Regions from separate parts of the Homo sapiens genome. Here region 2 is linked to region 1. The links are contacts of gene promoters, found by promoter capture Hi-C in blood cells and fetal thymus (Javierre and others, 2016). All regions are on one chromosome and are shown on one strand. Each heading gives the region's core, a stretch centred on a gene start or on the middle of the fragment in contact. The rest is flanking DNA. Distances are from core to core; before and after follow the strand shown.

The links. The method cuts DNA at HindIII sites, captures the fragments that hold promoters and counts their contacts. A CHiCAGO score of 5 or more calls a contact.
Region 2: a contact is called between a fragment that was not itself captured here and the fragment with the promoter of AURKC in region 1, in 1 of 17 cell types (total CD4 T cells). The highest score is 14.1, in total CD4 T cells.

The regions. Positions count from the first base shown.
Region 1 is chr19:57,228,992-57,233,087 of GRCh38, forward strand. It overlaps AURKC (aurora kinase C), which reads left to right and starts at 2,032. Exons shown (of 7, transcript NM_001015878.2): 1 at 2,032-2,315; 2 at 2,751-2,796; 3 at 3,042-3,233; 4 at 3,551-3,689. The coding sequence starts at 2,258. The HindIII fragment of the contact is 17,293 bases long and covers 1-4,096 here.
Region 2 is chr19:37,082,514-37,086,859 of GRCh38, forward strand. The region is part of intron 2 of ZNF420 (zinc finger protein 420); the gene reads left to right. Among named protein-coding and RNA genes, the nearest start is that of ZNF420, 6.3 kb to the left of the region's middle. The HindIII fragment of the contact is 3,177 bases long and covers 967-4,143 here.

The DNA of each region.
Region 1 (4,096 bases), core at 782-3,281:
GTGGCTCACGCCTGTAATCCCAGCAATTTGGGAGACTGAGGTGGGTAGATCATCTGTGGTCAGGAGTTCGACACCAGCCTGGCCAAAATGGTGAAACCCTGTCTCTACTAAAAATACCAAAATTAGCCGGGCGTGGTGGTGTGCACCTGTAGTCCCAGCTACTTGGGAGTCTGAGGCAGGAGAATTGGTTGAACCTGGGAGGCAGAGGTTGCAGTGAGCCGAGATCGCACCACTGCACTCCAGCCTGGGCGACAGAGTGAAACTGCATCTCAAAAAAAAAAAAAAATTCCTCAAGTACAGGAATGCATAATTATTTTGCTATGTACATATCTGATTTTTTAGAGCAGTGCCTGTTGCAAGATAGGCACTCAATCGATACTCATTAAATTAACAATATACACATATATAAAACAGCACTTTCACATGGTTATGAGTGACCTAAGGAAAAACAGAACAGGATGACGTTGTAGTGGGGGCTGTTTTAAATTGACAGTTTGGAGCTGGGCGCAGTGGCTCACACCTGTGATCCCAGTATTTTGGGAAGCCGAGGCGAGTGGATCACCTGAGGTCAGGAGTTCGAGACCAGCCTGGCCAACATGGTGAAACCCTGTCTCTACTAAAAATACAAAAATTAGCCGGGCATGGTGGCAGGTGCCTGTAATCCCAGCTACTCAGGAGGCTGAGGCAGGAGAAATGTTTGAACCTAGGAGGCGGAGGTTGCATGAGCTGAGTTCGAGCCACTGCACTCCAGCCTGGGTGACAGAGCAAGACTCCGTCTCAATAAACAAACAAACAGACAGGTTTGGGAAAGCCTCTGAGAAAGGAATGGTTGGCCTGAGCTAAGCGCCATTACCCTGATCCACCTATTGTAACCACCTAATGGGTTCATTATTTTCCCTGCTCCCCAGATAGAGTCGACTTATCAAGACAGGATAATTGCAATAAAGGGTTTAATTCACATCAATCGAGCTAAATGAGAGACCAGAGTTTTATTACTCAAATAGGTCTCCCCAAATATTTTGAGACGAGCTTTTTTGTTTTTGGGTTTTTTTGTTTTTGTTTTTGTTTTTTTTGAGACAGAGTCTCGTTCTCCTTCTGTCGCCCAGGCTGGAGTGCAGTGGCATGATCTTGGCTCACTGCAACCTCCGCCTCCAGGGTTCAAGCGATTCTCTTGCCTCAGCCTTTTGAGTAGGTGGGATTACAGGCATGCGCCACCACACCCGGCTAATTTTTGTAGTAGAAACGGGGTTTCGCCCTGTTGGCCAGGCTGGTCTCGAACTGCCTACCTCAGGTGATCCGCCCGCCTCGGCCTCCCAAAGTGCTGGGATTACAGGCATGAGCCATCACGCCAGGCCTTCAATTATATTTCTGCAAGATATGTTCCCTGTCTAAAAGAATTCAATTTTTAATGTTTTTGAAACTTATGTGTTTGCTAAACAAATACGTGGGGGCTGATTTTACGATCTGAGGCCAAATCCACAAACTGATTACAGGGTCCAACAAATATTTGGCGAGTGGGAGGAGAGGGGTAAGTGAGCTGGACTGGTGGCGTCCTGGCTGTGAGCAGGCACAGCCGCAGGCTTCAGGGAGCCCCATCGCGGTGACCCTGGAGAGTGGCCTGAATCGGACGTGACCTTGAAGCAAGGTGGTTTTGGGGTCGCCGGCTGCACAAGGCGCGAAGTGGTTTAGGGTCACGGGCTGCACGAGGCTCCAGCACGTCAGGAGTGGGCGTCTGTTCATTCCCACGTGCATCGCGGCTCTCTCCTAGTTGACGCATGCACACCCCGTGGGTGTATGCGTTGTTCATTCCCACAACGGCCATCACCACCTCTCCGCACCCTCTGTCTCCTTCCTTCTCGGGCCTCACCCCTGGCCCTCGCTTTCAGTGCCCAGCCCGGACCGCAGCACTCCAGTTCCGCCCCAACCCGGGAACCCTGGACTGAGGCTCCCGTTTCTGTCCTTTCTATTGGGCGCACTTCCGATGGCGTCAGGAATTTCAGCCAATAGGAGCCAGCCAGGAAGTACCTCTCTGAGCGGTTGGTGCCGGGTATAAAAGAAGGCCGCGCAGCCACGGCTGCTCACGACGCCGCGGATCCCGAAGCCTGTGTAGCAGTGAGACATCAGTGAGGCTGCAGGACGAGCAGGATTGGAAGCGCCCCGGCCAGAAAGTGACCCCCCACCCCTTTCAGGACCCTGTGAACGGGAACAGCCATCCAGAGGGTTCAGGAAGGCGTCCGCGCCCTCACCTCTTCTCCCCATGAGCTCCCCCAGAGCTGTGGTGCAGCTGGGCAAAGCTCAACCTGCAGGCGAAGAGTGTGAGAGCCAGCGCCAGAGAAAGGACGCAGGGAAGGCTGGGGACTGGGCCAGGGGTCGGGTGCACAGAAGACACATGTGTTGACATCTCCCCTCCCTCTCCTCCTCCCCAACGCTCTTCTTTTCTCCCCACTCCCTCCCTTCCCTCCAATTCTTTCTTTCACCTCTCCCTCCCCTACTCTCTCCTCCCCTTCCTTTCTCTCTGCCTCTTCTTCACCTCCTCCTCCCCTCCCTACCTTACCTTACTCTTTCTTCTTCCCCTTACCTCTCCCTCCCCCTCTCCCTGCCTTCCCCTTCCCTCTCTTTCTCTCCTCCCCTTCTTCCCCTCACCTCTCGCTCCCTATTCCCTTCTCTACTGTTCTCCTCTCCTCTCTTTCTCTCCCCTTCTCCTTCCCTCCCCTCTCCCTTCCTATCTCCCTCCTCCTCCTCTCTTTCAGTGGCTACAGCAAACCAAACAGCCCAGCAGCCCAGCAGCCCAGCCATGTGAGTCCCTTGGGATTGGTATCTGGAAAAGGAAGGAAGGTGGGACGTGGGGATGAAGAACAGACTGGGTGTGTGGGGTGCTGGCTCCTGGGAACGAGAACTACTGATAGGGCTGGGTCTGTGTGAGAAGGGAAAGCGGCAGAGGAAGGATACAATGAAAGAGGAAGGGGAGCATTGGCATCCCTGACTTTCCCTCCGCCTACCCTACCTCCCAAGCTGAGGCTTTTTTCTTCCTCTCCTGTCAGGCGGCGCCTCACAGTCGATGACTTTGAAATCGGGCGTCCCCTGGGCAAGGGGAAATTTGGGAATGTGTACCTGGCTCGGCTCAAGGAAAGCCATTTCATTGTGGCCCTGAAGGTTCTCTTCAAGTCGCAGATAGAGAAGGAAGGACTGGAGCACCAGCTGCGCCGGGAAATTGAGATCCAGGCTCATCTACAGTAAGGACAGTCTCTGCTTCCTCTTTCATCTTTGACGTCTGAGCCCAGCATTTTCCCCAAATACTAACCCCAAGTAAACCCTGCACTTGTACCTTGAAGACTTCTCTGCAGTTCATTCCATTTACACTACCTCCTACCCTGGGTCAGACACTCGAATCCTGGTTCCTGTTCTCCGTTCTCCCCTCACTTGCTCCCAGATAGGGCTGTTGTTATTCTGGTCCCAGCATAATTTGCCACTTGTGTGACCAGGCAGTGACGGTGGCATCATATGATAGGCCTCAGGGAGAAATCTGACTCTTCCAACATTAATCCTTCAGACACCCCAATATCCTGCGCCTGTATAACTATTTCCATGATGCACGCCGGGTGTACCTGATTCTGGAATATGCTCCAAGGGGTGAGCTCTACAAGGAGCTGCAGAAAAGCGAGAAATTAGATGAACAGCGCACAGCCACGGTGAGGTGCGGGTCTGGAGGCTCTGGGGTCTCTGAGTTTACTGTGGGCTGGTGGGAGCTCTGTTTGTGGCTGTCAGGAGGGTCCGCATTGCCTTCTGAGAAGTTTACTTCTGAATGTTATTGTGTAAATTTAATATAATGGCACGTATGTTCTACAGCTTTATCCTTGGATACCCTAATTAACCTCATTGTATCTCCAGAATATTAATAAGTACTGCGTATAGGTTTGGATTCTTTGGTTATAAGCAACAGAATCTAACTCCACTGCCTTATGTAAAGAAACATATTGAAAGGCTCTGAAGGAGTTCACTGAATAAATAGCTAGAACTGGCTTAGAGATAGGTACAAAGAGATTTCTAGAGGGTTCCGGAAAGGGAACCATGGCAATGATTTTCCCAGGAGCAATGG
Region 2 (4,346 bases), core at 1,305-3,804, about 20 Mb before region 1:
TGATTATTGATATGGTTTGGTTCAAATCCATCATTTTGCCATTTGTTTTATATTTATCCCATCTGTTCTTTATTTCCTGTTCTCCCTTTTCTGCCTTCTTTTGGATTGAGACAGAGTTTCAAAATAACAATACCAATATTTTAACCAACCATATGAATATAGAAAAACAACATAAAGTCCTGTTGGAGTTTGACAGGATATAGCCCACTAGGGATCTATAATCAAATTACTGTGTTTAAAAGTCGTCTACAATAACACTTCTCGTATGGTTAAGCTGCCAGCTGGAAATGCAGTTATGCTCATTTGTTTTATATTGCTTTTCATGTTTAGGGATTGCTTTTCTCCCACTATGATTTAATTTTGTTTTAAAATTACATAACATATATCTAAAATCAAAAGTACAGAATAAGATGAATTTGAAGAAGTCTAGTGTCCATTTCTGTCCCCTCTACCTGCTCCTTTCTTCCCTCTATAGTAGCTGGGGCTACAGGCACGCGCCACCATGCCCAGCTAATTTTTTGTATTTTAGTAGAGACAGGGTTTCACCATGTTGGCCAGGATGGTCTCGATCTCCTGACCTTGTGATCCGCCCACCTCTGCCTCCCAAAGTGCTGGGATTACAGGCGTGAGCCACCATGCCTGGCCCCGTTTTTGCTTTTTTTTTTTTTTTATTTTAGTAATCCATCATACATAGTGATGTGCACTTCTCTGAAGTAGGGCATAGTATCTGGTTGTTTTCCTTTATGTGATGTTAACAGCCAGCTACTGACATCTTTATGTGAATATGTTATTTTATCAGTGGTTACAGAATTATATTCTAATTCTTCTGCATTTATTAGCTGGACTATATCTATAAAGGGAGCCATCCTTTCTCAATGTCTTGGTTACCTGAAGAATAGTTTATGCAAAAAGAAAAACTGGAATGAAAGATTGGTTTTTCTCTTATTATTTTTCAGCATCTTTCAAAGCTTATTCTGTGTTTTTCTTTTAAACTATTATTATTAACTTGTGTATTAAAACATATCTGTTATGTTTCGATCTGTGACAATAACTGTTCTTATTAATGCTCACATTGTTCCATGTATGGCAAGTGGAAGGTTTACCCTCTCTGATTTGTCTGCTTTTGGATTCCTTTTTATTCTTTTTGACATGACCCCAGTAGTCTTTGGCAGATTCCAGACTTTCCGTGCTGACAGAGTATTCCAGGCTCATTTTGTACAATTTCCTGTCCCAAACATAAAATCAGCCACTTCTTTATGGAGCCCTGGTTCCTTTTATAAGAAGTGCTTTTAAGAAGTCACAACAAGGATAGTAGGAACTCTCATTGCTCCTAGTTGTCATTGCTTATAGCCTTAACAGAGCTGGTGAAATACAAATTTTTTAGAAGGAGAAAAAAAATCCTGAGTGTATACTGATATTTCCAATTGAAATAAAAGATTATAGAGTTTTTCTTACTATCTTTGATTTTATATTTGTGTTTTATAATCTGAAAAAATCTTAATTCGTAATGATTAATGATATTAAGATTCTCACTGATATATGTGTGTGTATAATCATTTCAGGTTATATACATATATTACTTTTAGACTAACAATGCCAATATTATTAATAACAGTATAACTACTGAAAAACTCTAAGACATAACTTCATAAAGTTATAAACTCTTAAGACAACTTTGAAAAACAGTTTATAGTTATTTTGTTTGTAGGTTATATTGGGTCTAATGTCAAATGACTGTATTTTAAAGTTCCCGAAAATAATCACTTCCTTTATATGTTTAACCTTCCAGCTTTATGCACAGATAAGTTTGTTTCATTTTGCTTTTATTTCTTAGAGATTTTTTTTCATTTTGATTTAATTTTGTGATTATAGTTATAGAAAACATACTTGTGGTTCCAAAGTCAAATAGATTTGATTGGTAATACTTTATAACTTTGTTGTATGTCTGTCTTCCTAGAAGCTATTGAGCTGTAACTTTTTTCATGTAATATCTTTGTGAGGTTTTAGTATTATGGTTATTTGGCCTCAAAATGTAGAACAGACTGCTGTCTCCTTTTTCTGTTTTCTGAAAACGTTTGTGAAAGAACAGTATTATATCTGCCTTAAATATTGGTAGAATTTACCAGTAAAGCCATCTGGGCCTTCTCTGTGGACAGTTTATTTGTTTGTTTCTCACATTCAATTTCTTTAATATCCATGGGATGATTTGTATTTCTGTTTTTTCTTGTGTGAATTTTGGCAATTTTTGTTTTAAGGAATTTGTCTATATTGTTGAAATTGCCAAAATTATTGGCATAGAATTGTATTATCTTTTTAATTAAAGCCTTAAAAAATCTGTGGTCCAGTCTCCACTTTGGTAATATTTTTTTTTGAAAACTTGATAGGGGTTTGTAAACTGTATTAATCTTTTGAAAGAATTGATTTTTGAGTTTGTTGATATTCTCTATTGTAATCTACTTTATATTGTGGATTTTGTGCTTATTTTTATTCTTTCTTTTCTTCTTACTTTCAGCTTCACTTGCTCTTCTTTTTCCAGCTTCCTAAGGTGGGAGCCTAAATCATTTTTCTAACATAAGCATTTAACACTATTAATTTTCCTCTAAATACTGCTTTTGTTGCAGCTCACAGAATCTGATAAGTGTGTTTCCATTGTCACTCAGTTCGGCATATTTTTCAATGTCTTTTTGCATGGGTTATTTAGAAGTATGTTTAATTTCCAAATATTTGGAGATTCTTGTTACTAGTTTGTAATTTAATAATATGTGGACACTGACCACAGTATATTCTCTGTATAATTCAGTTTTTAAAATATTTACTGTTACTTGTTTTATGACCCAGCATCTGGTTTATTTTGATGACCTTTCCATACGCAGTTGTTAATGAAGAGTCTGACTCTTGCTAAAATCCTATGTGTGGGTTCTCAGGCTCCACCAGGTCATTCCTGGCAGGCCACACAGGGGAAAGGTGGCCTCCCCGCAGCAGACTTGGTGCACTTCTAGTGCATTACAGTCTCTAAAGGGAGTTGCAGTGCAGGACTCAGGCCTCCCAGACCAGCCATGCTGTTATGCGTGTTTACATTCCTAACCCAGGCACCTCCATTAGGAGGCCTCTTTATCAGGTGCCTCTGCCAAGAGGACATCCTAATCTAGGGGAGAGGGGAAACTTTGAAGACACTTTCTTTCCCCACTCTTAGTATCCGGTAGTTTTAATTTTTTTCTTTATTTCTTTTTTCTTTCTTCTCTTTTCTTTTTTTTTAACATATTTTTGGAGACAGGATATTGCTCTGTCGCCCAGACTGGAGTGTAGTGGCATGATCATAGCTCATTGCAGCCTTGAACTCCTGGACAGTTCAAGCAATCCTCCTGCCTCAGCCTCCCAAGTAGCTAGGACTACAGGTTTGCATCACAATGCCTGGCTGATGTTTTATTATTATTATTATTATTATTATTATTATTATTATTATTATTTTGTAGAGACAGATTCTTGCTATGTTGCCCAGGCTGGTCTCAAACTTCTGGCCTCAAGTAATCTTCCTGCCTCGGCCTCCCCAAGTGCTGGGGTTGCTTACAGGCATGAGCCACCGTGCCCAGCCAGGCCTCACTACTTTTTCACTCTTAGCCCTTCCCTTGTCTTCTTGTCCCCTGGTCCCAGTCCATAAAATGAATGATAGGAGCTTTTTGTTCTGCATTCCCTTAGCAGTGAGATGACTCACTTCTGCACTGATCCACATTTGCACTGATCTGCCTGACCCTCTCTGACCCTCTCCAGGTGCTATTTCATGGTTGGGGTTGGGGGAGTGAAACAGTGGAGTACTCAGCGCTTTCTCTGGGTTAGCCTCTTAAATTAAGTGACTACTAAGTGATTAAAGGCTGGTTGTGTTAATCACTTATTCCAACACCTTGCAGCTCAGTTCTCTTCAGCCCAGCTTGGCTTTTGGTAAGTGGGTGTGGTATTCTATTAATATATATTTATCATCTTGGCCAAGGTACTTGATATAGTGGTATGTAAATCCTCTATATTGTTATCGATTTTATTGTCTACTTGTTCTGTCAGTTACTGAGCAAAAGATTTTACAATTCCCAACTCTGTGGGTTTGTCTCTTTCTTCCTTTAGTACTGTCAATTTTTGCTTCACACATTTTGAAGCTTTGTTGTTAAATCTCTACATTTGGATTGCTGTCTTCTTGATGAGTTGATCCTCCTTATTGCTAGTATTTCTCTTTATCTTGAAGTCTATTTTGTCTTATACTAATATAGGCATACAAGCTTTCTTGTGATTAGAGTTTGATGGTGTATCTTCCCATTTTACTTTTAGCCCATCTTTATATTTAAAATGTGCTTCTTGTA